Linked DNA regions of Homo sapiens: region 1 is linked to region 2. Evidence: promoter capture Hi-C in 16 types of primary human blood cells and fetal thymus (Javierre and others, 2016). All regions are on one chromosome and are shown on one strand. Each heading gives the region's core, a stretch centred on a gene start or on the middle of the fragment in contact. The rest is flanking DNA. Distances are from core to core; before and after follow the strand shown. Region 1 overlaps LOC124901037 (a long non-coding RNA gene). Region 2 holds the start of FAM174A (family with sequence similarity 174 member A).

The links. The method cuts DNA at HindIII sites, captures the fragments that hold promoters and counts their contacts. A CHiCAGO score of 5 or more calls a contact.
Region 1: a fragment that was not itself captured here is called in contact with the fragment with the promoter of FAM174A in region 2 in 1 of 17 cell types (total CD8 T cells); the score reaches 5.3 in total CD8 T cells.

Annotation. Positions count from the first base shown.
Region 1 is chr5:103,244,724-103,247,782 of GRCh38, forward strand. LOC124901037 (a long non-coding RNA gene) reads right to left here. Exons shown (of 2, transcript XR_007058894.1): 2 at 1,074-1,617. Among named protein-coding and RNA genes, the nearest start is that of MACIR, 13 kb to the right of the region's middle. The HindIII fragment of the contact is 1,644 bases long and covers 548-2,191 here.
Region 2 is chr5:100,533,443-100,536,795 of GRCh38, forward strand. FAM174A (family with sequence similarity 174 member A) reads left to right here and starts at 1,932. Exons shown (of 3, transcript NM_198507.3): 1 at 1,932-2,522. The coding sequence starts at 2,089. It overlaps FAM174A-DT (FAM174A divergent transcript), which reads right to left and starts at 1,801. Exons shown (of 5, transcript NR_172939.1): 1 at 1,719-1,801; 2 at 638-710. RefSeq lists an enhancer at 1,891-2,190. The HindIII fragment of the contact is 3,135 bases long and covers 1,555-3,353 here.

The DNA of each region.
Region 1 (3,059 bases), core at 120-2,619, 2.7 Mb after region 2:
GGGTAACTTGGAGGAGAGAAAACCTGGGCTTGGGAACAGTTTAGGACTCTTGTCTTCAGCATTTCCCAGGAAAAAGGACTCCAGTGGGCCAACAAAGAGACCCTGATAATTTGCTCAAACCCAACGTGGTATGTGTAGTTCTTACACAAATTCCGAATAAGCAGCCTTCTAATATCACATTAGTTTCTCTGCCAGAAGCGATATTTCCCAAGAGAAGTAATTAAATGGATTTTCTACTCCAAATTTGTCCTGTGTGAACTTGGGTAGTAAATTTTTCCAGGGAATGCGTGGATGAATCCTTTTATTTAGACAATCACAAACAGTAGCCTAGGATGAGAGAGAAAAGAAACTGCAAGGTGATTTTGAACACTAGTTCATCTTTCCTAATTGCATACCTCTTAACACTTCCAAGCCTTTGTCTCGTGTAACAGAAGAAGGTAATACGACTATCTTATTCATAAATAACTGTAGCGAGATTGAGATTAGTGAACATCAGGATCCGTACCATTATGTCCCTGTGAGTCTTCTAGTCATGAATTCTGTTGAAAGCTTAGGTAGGATGATCGCTTAAATATAAAAGTCTCTCAGAACTGGAAGAAGTCTGAGATATGATAATCACCTTGTAGCGTACATTATGTGTACTGTTATTAAATGTGTATGTGAAAGTTCTGGGTTTGTCCTTTCAACTAAATTATAGTTTGAACTTTAGTGCATGTAAATTATGCATTGACAAAGGCAGAATACTTTGAGACGTGAATGTTCAAGTTATTATATGTTATTGTGGGGAGTTTTAAATAGCAACTGGAAACTTATGGTAAAATATTTATTTTGAATAATTCTTCTTTACCAACATTATTTCAGAAACACATCTAACATGTGGCTGTTGAAGCAATATGGAAATATGAAATATTAAGGAAATGTCACTTATATGTTCATAAGTTTGGTTTTATGTACACTCACTTGATGTCTTGAGGAACTGGGGCTCTGTTGGTGCCATCCTCAATTAAAGTGGGAGCACTATAGATACAGCATTTTGCCAGTGTTGATCTACTGATTTAATAGGCATTCACTTGTTAAAATGAATTCACATTTATTTGTTGTCTTATTTCGTTAGGTGGCTATACGGCTGATAGTTCTCTGACTTTGAAAGTTTACTTGCAATTAATGAAAGCACCCAAGAAAAGAAGGGGAGAGGTGAATGTGGGAACTGTGGTTGCTTTCATTAAAGGTGGTTTTCCTGTAGTAAGTTGAGATGCTTTGTGTCTACTGAGTATAATCCGTGTGGCAACCTCCTCCAACTTCATAGGCTCTACTCTCTCTACAATATTTGTGAAGGAGAAGGTTTATTTCACATTCATTTCTGAGGCCTCAGTTTGGCAACCAATTTTCCACATGGCATCCCCTCCACTGCCCCCAGTTCCGGTATGGGCTTCTACCTTCTGGAACTCCATCTGTTCTCCATACTAGGGTGCTGGGCTGGACTTCACGTTGCTGATGTAGAAATTCTATACATCTTTTATTACTATGTGCCGTAATTCCCTCAGAGCACCAGCAGTCATCACTGCTGTGTGGGTGGAAGTTTTCCCTGAAGAATTTGGAGTTATTAAAGAAAATTCACTACAACAGAGAGGGGAAAACCCTTTTAAATTGTACCCTAAATATGTTTGTTTCTCTAGTCTAAATTCATGTTAAGGAACATAAACTATTTCTTAACTGCAGTATAATATGGAAAGATGGGACACACTTTACATTGCTGTATAGAGCCATGTCTGTTCTCCCTAGCTTACCTCACAGGTGCCCTTGTTTTCTGACGTATGTGTCCATAAAGCCTTCCCACTATTAGTTGTCTTGGTGGGTCTCTGTTTTTTAGAACTAAGCCTTTTGCTTTCTATAATTTTAGCTCTCCTTAAGCCTCTCCCACATTTCAGGTATATAAGTTATATTAATACTGAAAGCAATCTGGAAAAATGAATATTAGTTTTCTAGATAAGGAAACAGTGTTAGATAGGTCAGATAATTTGAACAATGTCACATGTCTAGAAATCCTAGATTGTATGCTTTCAAAGTCCATGCTATCATCTGAGATTTGTATCACATTGTATCTTGTAAAGTAATTGAGTGACATGATAAGATGTCAAGGCTGCTTCAACTGACCCATAAATGTGCAAATATTTTACAGCAATAGGAACAAAGCTTTTTTTTTCTGTTAACTTCCTTTTTTCAGGAAAAGAATGAGTATAGAGATGAGTATAGAGATCTTTTGAAATCATAATTTCAAAAGATAAAGGTTTTGGCTAAGTGCTTGGGAAGAGTAACAAGTTGCAATACTGTAGTAGCTTCATTATTAGAAAGCTAAAAAACTTCATATAATTTCTGACTAGAAAGTTAACAGATTAATCAAGACTGTTAGCAATTGGAAAGTCTCAAGCTTTGGTTGAGAATGTTTCATTGACATTTAAAATTTTAATTTTTTAAAATGGGCATTTATTTTACATAATCAAAATTCAAAACATACAAAAGAATGTATAATGAAAAGTTTACCTCCCAACCCTGTCCCCAGGCCATCAGCTGTTTCTCCCTAAAGATAACTAATATTTTCCACTTCTCATTGTGGTTTTGATTTGCATTTCTCTAATGATGAGTGATGTTGAGCATTTTTTCATGTGCTTGTTGGCCATGCGTATGTCTTCTTTTGCAAAGTGTCTGTTCATGTCCTTTGCCCACTTTTTAATGGGGTTGTTTTTTGCTTGTTAATTTATTAGGTCTCCTTTTAGATTCTGGATATTATGTATTTGTTGGATGCATAGTTTGCAAATATTTTCTCCTGTTCTGTAGGTTGCCTGTTTACTCTGTTGATAGTTTCTTTGGCTGTGCAGAAGCTCTTTAGTTTAGGTAGGTCCCATTGGTCAATTTTTGTTTTTGTTGCAAATTGCTTTTGGAGTCTTCATCATGAAATCTTTACCAAGGCCTATGTCCAGAATGGTATTTCCTAGGTTTTCTTCTAGGGTTTTTGTAATTTTAGGTTTTATGTTTAAGTAGTTAATCCATTTTGCATGGAT
Region 2 (3,353 bases), core at 682-3,181:
ATCTATGTGAAATACAATCTTTCAAACTAAGTAAAATTAGTTGTTTATGAATTTTTCTCTTAATTTTAATATACTTGTTCATTTACTTGTTATCAATTGGCTTGCAAACAAGTTGTACCAAGCACAGGATATAAAAAAAAAATACATAAATAAGGGGAAAAAATCTCAGAATGAGAAATTTGTATCAGGTTACTGCCACATTATTATATTCTCCTAATTAATACCATGATTTGATTCTAGCTTCTTAATCAACTATTGCTAGAATAATGTGGCATAATCAATAACCATAGAAATATCAGTGGCATACAGCAAATAAGCATTTATTTTTCACTTCTTTGGTCAAGCTGGGGTTGACTAACTTAAGCTAACCTTGGCTGCATTTGGTGCCAGGCTATAGGTTTAGTCATAGTTTACGCCAGATATCCCACAGTCTACTAGGATCAGAGGACTAGCTGGGTCATATTCTTTTCAAGGTTAGGGCCAGAACTTTCTGTGCAGAGAGGGCAGGCAAGTGAAAGGGGGAAAGGAATAATGAGAGAGGTAGGTGTGTGTATGCATGTGTGTGTGTTTCTGGCTCTCTCTCTGTATATATCTACCTGTATCTGTCTCTCTTTTAGCAATGAAAACAATAACTTACTCAAAAGACCCACGTATACCCTTGACAGGCATCTCATTGGTGAGAGGTACATCATGCGGCCACTTCTAGTTATCTGCACAAATTGAAGTTCCATATTACTGAAGTCAAACAGGCAAGGAAGACATTATTGAAGACTACTGCTGTTGGGAAAGGGGATAAAACTCTTCTAATCTCAACTCCTCTAAAAGAAAAAAAGGAGTGGAGAGTTATTAAGAGCTATTTTGGGAAGATCACCGGCCACCTGAGTTTGCTGATTGACTTTACCCAAAGGAAAAGTAAATTTTCTCCTCCATGACAGGAGGTGGTTTTACAACTTGAAGCGAGAAGCCTACAACAGTTAGGTTCCTTTCCTCTCACACAAAATAAGAGATGGCCCACTACCTTCCTTGCTGATTATATTTCAAAGGCATGATGGCTTTCCATACCCTTGAGATAGTTTTCAATTATATAACTGGCCAGAAGCTTTAAAAAATATTTACATCTGAAAAGGGAAGAGAAATAACTTACAATGGTAAAGTTTTCTAAAGTAATTTTTTTTAATATACTTTAAGTTCTAGGGTATATGTGCACAACGTGCAGGTTTGTTACATATGTATACATGTGCCATGTTGCTGTGCTGCACCCATTAACTCGTCATTTACATTAGGTATATCCCCTAATGCTATCCCTCCCCCCTACCCCACGACAGGCCCCGGTGTGTGATGTTCCCCATCCCGTGTCCAAGTGTTCTCATTGTTCAATTCCCACCTATGAGTGAGAACATGCAGTGTTTGGTTTTCTGTCCTTCTAATAGTTTGCTCAGAATGATGGTTTCCAGCTTCATCCATGTGCCTACAAAGGACATGAACTCATTACAAGCAAATGCTCTTTAGAAAGGGAGGTCAGGGACCCATAGGCAGGAAAAAAAGCCTGCTTAAAGCTTGTAATGAAGCTAAGGAAAACTAAGCCCTTCTGGCTTACAGATTAAATGTGTTATTGCAGTTTGACACCAATGAATTCAGATTATGAGTTTCCAATCTCTCAGGGTTCCTGCATGAGAGAGTTGCTGTACATTTTACACAATCTCTTTTTGTCTACTTACTTTCTTAATACGCATCCTTGACCGCTCCTCACTAACAGTGAAAAGAACAATGCTTCCAAAACGGTCACGTCCTCGCTTTTTACACAAGTGCGCGTGCGCACTGGGCGCTAGGCCTCTGACGTCACCAAGTGCATCCGCCCCTACAAGTTAGCAACCGAAGGCGTCCTTAGCAGCAGTGGCCGCTGAGATGTACGAACTTCCGGTTCTCCGGGCAGCTGCCACTGCTGTAGCTTCTGCCACCTGCCACGACCGGGCCTCTCCCTGGCGTTTGGTCACCTCTGCTTCATTCTCCACCGCGCCTATGGTCCCTCTTGGAGCCAGCGTGGCGGGCCTGGCGGCTCCCGGGTGGTGAGAGAGCGGTCCGGGAACGATGAAGGCCTCGCAGTGCTGCTGCTGTCTCAGCCACCTCTTGGCTTCCGTCCTCCTCCTGCTGTTGCTGCCTGAACTAAGCGGGCCCCTGGCAGTCCTGCTGCAGGCAGCCGAGGCCGCGCCAGGTCTTGGGCCTCCTGACCCTAGACCACGGACATTACCGCCGCTGCCACCGGGCCCTACCCCTGCCCAGCAGCCGGGCCGTGGTCTGGCTGAAGCTGCGGGGCCGCGGGGCTCCGAGGGAGGCAATGGCAGCAACCCTGTGGCCGGGCTTGAGACGGACGATCACGGAGGGAAGGCCGGGGAAGGCTCGGTGGGTGGCGGCCTTGCTGTGAGCCCCAACCCTGGCGACAAGCCCATGACCCAGCGGGCCCTGACCGTGTTGATGGTGGTGAGCGGCGCGGTGCTGGTGTACTTCGTGGTCAGGACGGTCAGGTGAGGCAAAGCCTCGGTGGGGCACCCCCGTGGGCCTGAGATACGCAGGCCGGTGATCTCCAGCAAGGCTGACTTCTGTGACCCTTTCCCCCTTCCCCAGCATCAGGGACTCCTGCTTAAGAATATGATATTGACTTTCTTAAAGGCCTGTTACCTTTGGAGCAATTTAAACCTATAACTAATTGCTGCCTTTTGTTTATAAATGAGTGCCCTACCTCCAAATCTCTTCATCTGACCTACAACCCACGTCAGCCTCAAAGGGCACCCTTTCTCTGAAGTGAGGATAATCTTTATTCCCTAGAATTTTGACTACTCTGTCTTGTAATACTTCTACCTTTCTAGTCTAAATTTTTGTATACCTAACTGGTCAAAATTTTGCCAATCAGAATGCAAACTCTTTAAAGACAGGATATCTATTTAGTAGGTTTGTGAGTCTTACAAATTATTTGTACAATGCTGCCACTTAATAGGAAATCAATATATATTTGAGTGGATTAATAGTAATATAGAGGTGCCTTATGGATATTTTATTTTTATAAAATTCAGGAGAAGAAAAGTTCTTCCTTACTATCAGTGTTTCCTAGTATTGCCCTTTAATCTGCCACCTAAGTGGCAGAGAATCACCTTCCTGAAGAGTTGACATACAGAGCCAAGACCTCACCATTAGGAGAAGCCAGCAAAGAGATAAGGTGAGGGAAAGCTGTCTAGCAGTTTATTTCATTATAAAATAAGTGTAGAGGGTAGGTTTGCAGCTTATGTTTGTTTATTGTTTTCAAAATTCACGTTTTTCCCATAAATACCCTCTGTATTGTAATTTAACATATTTCTTTA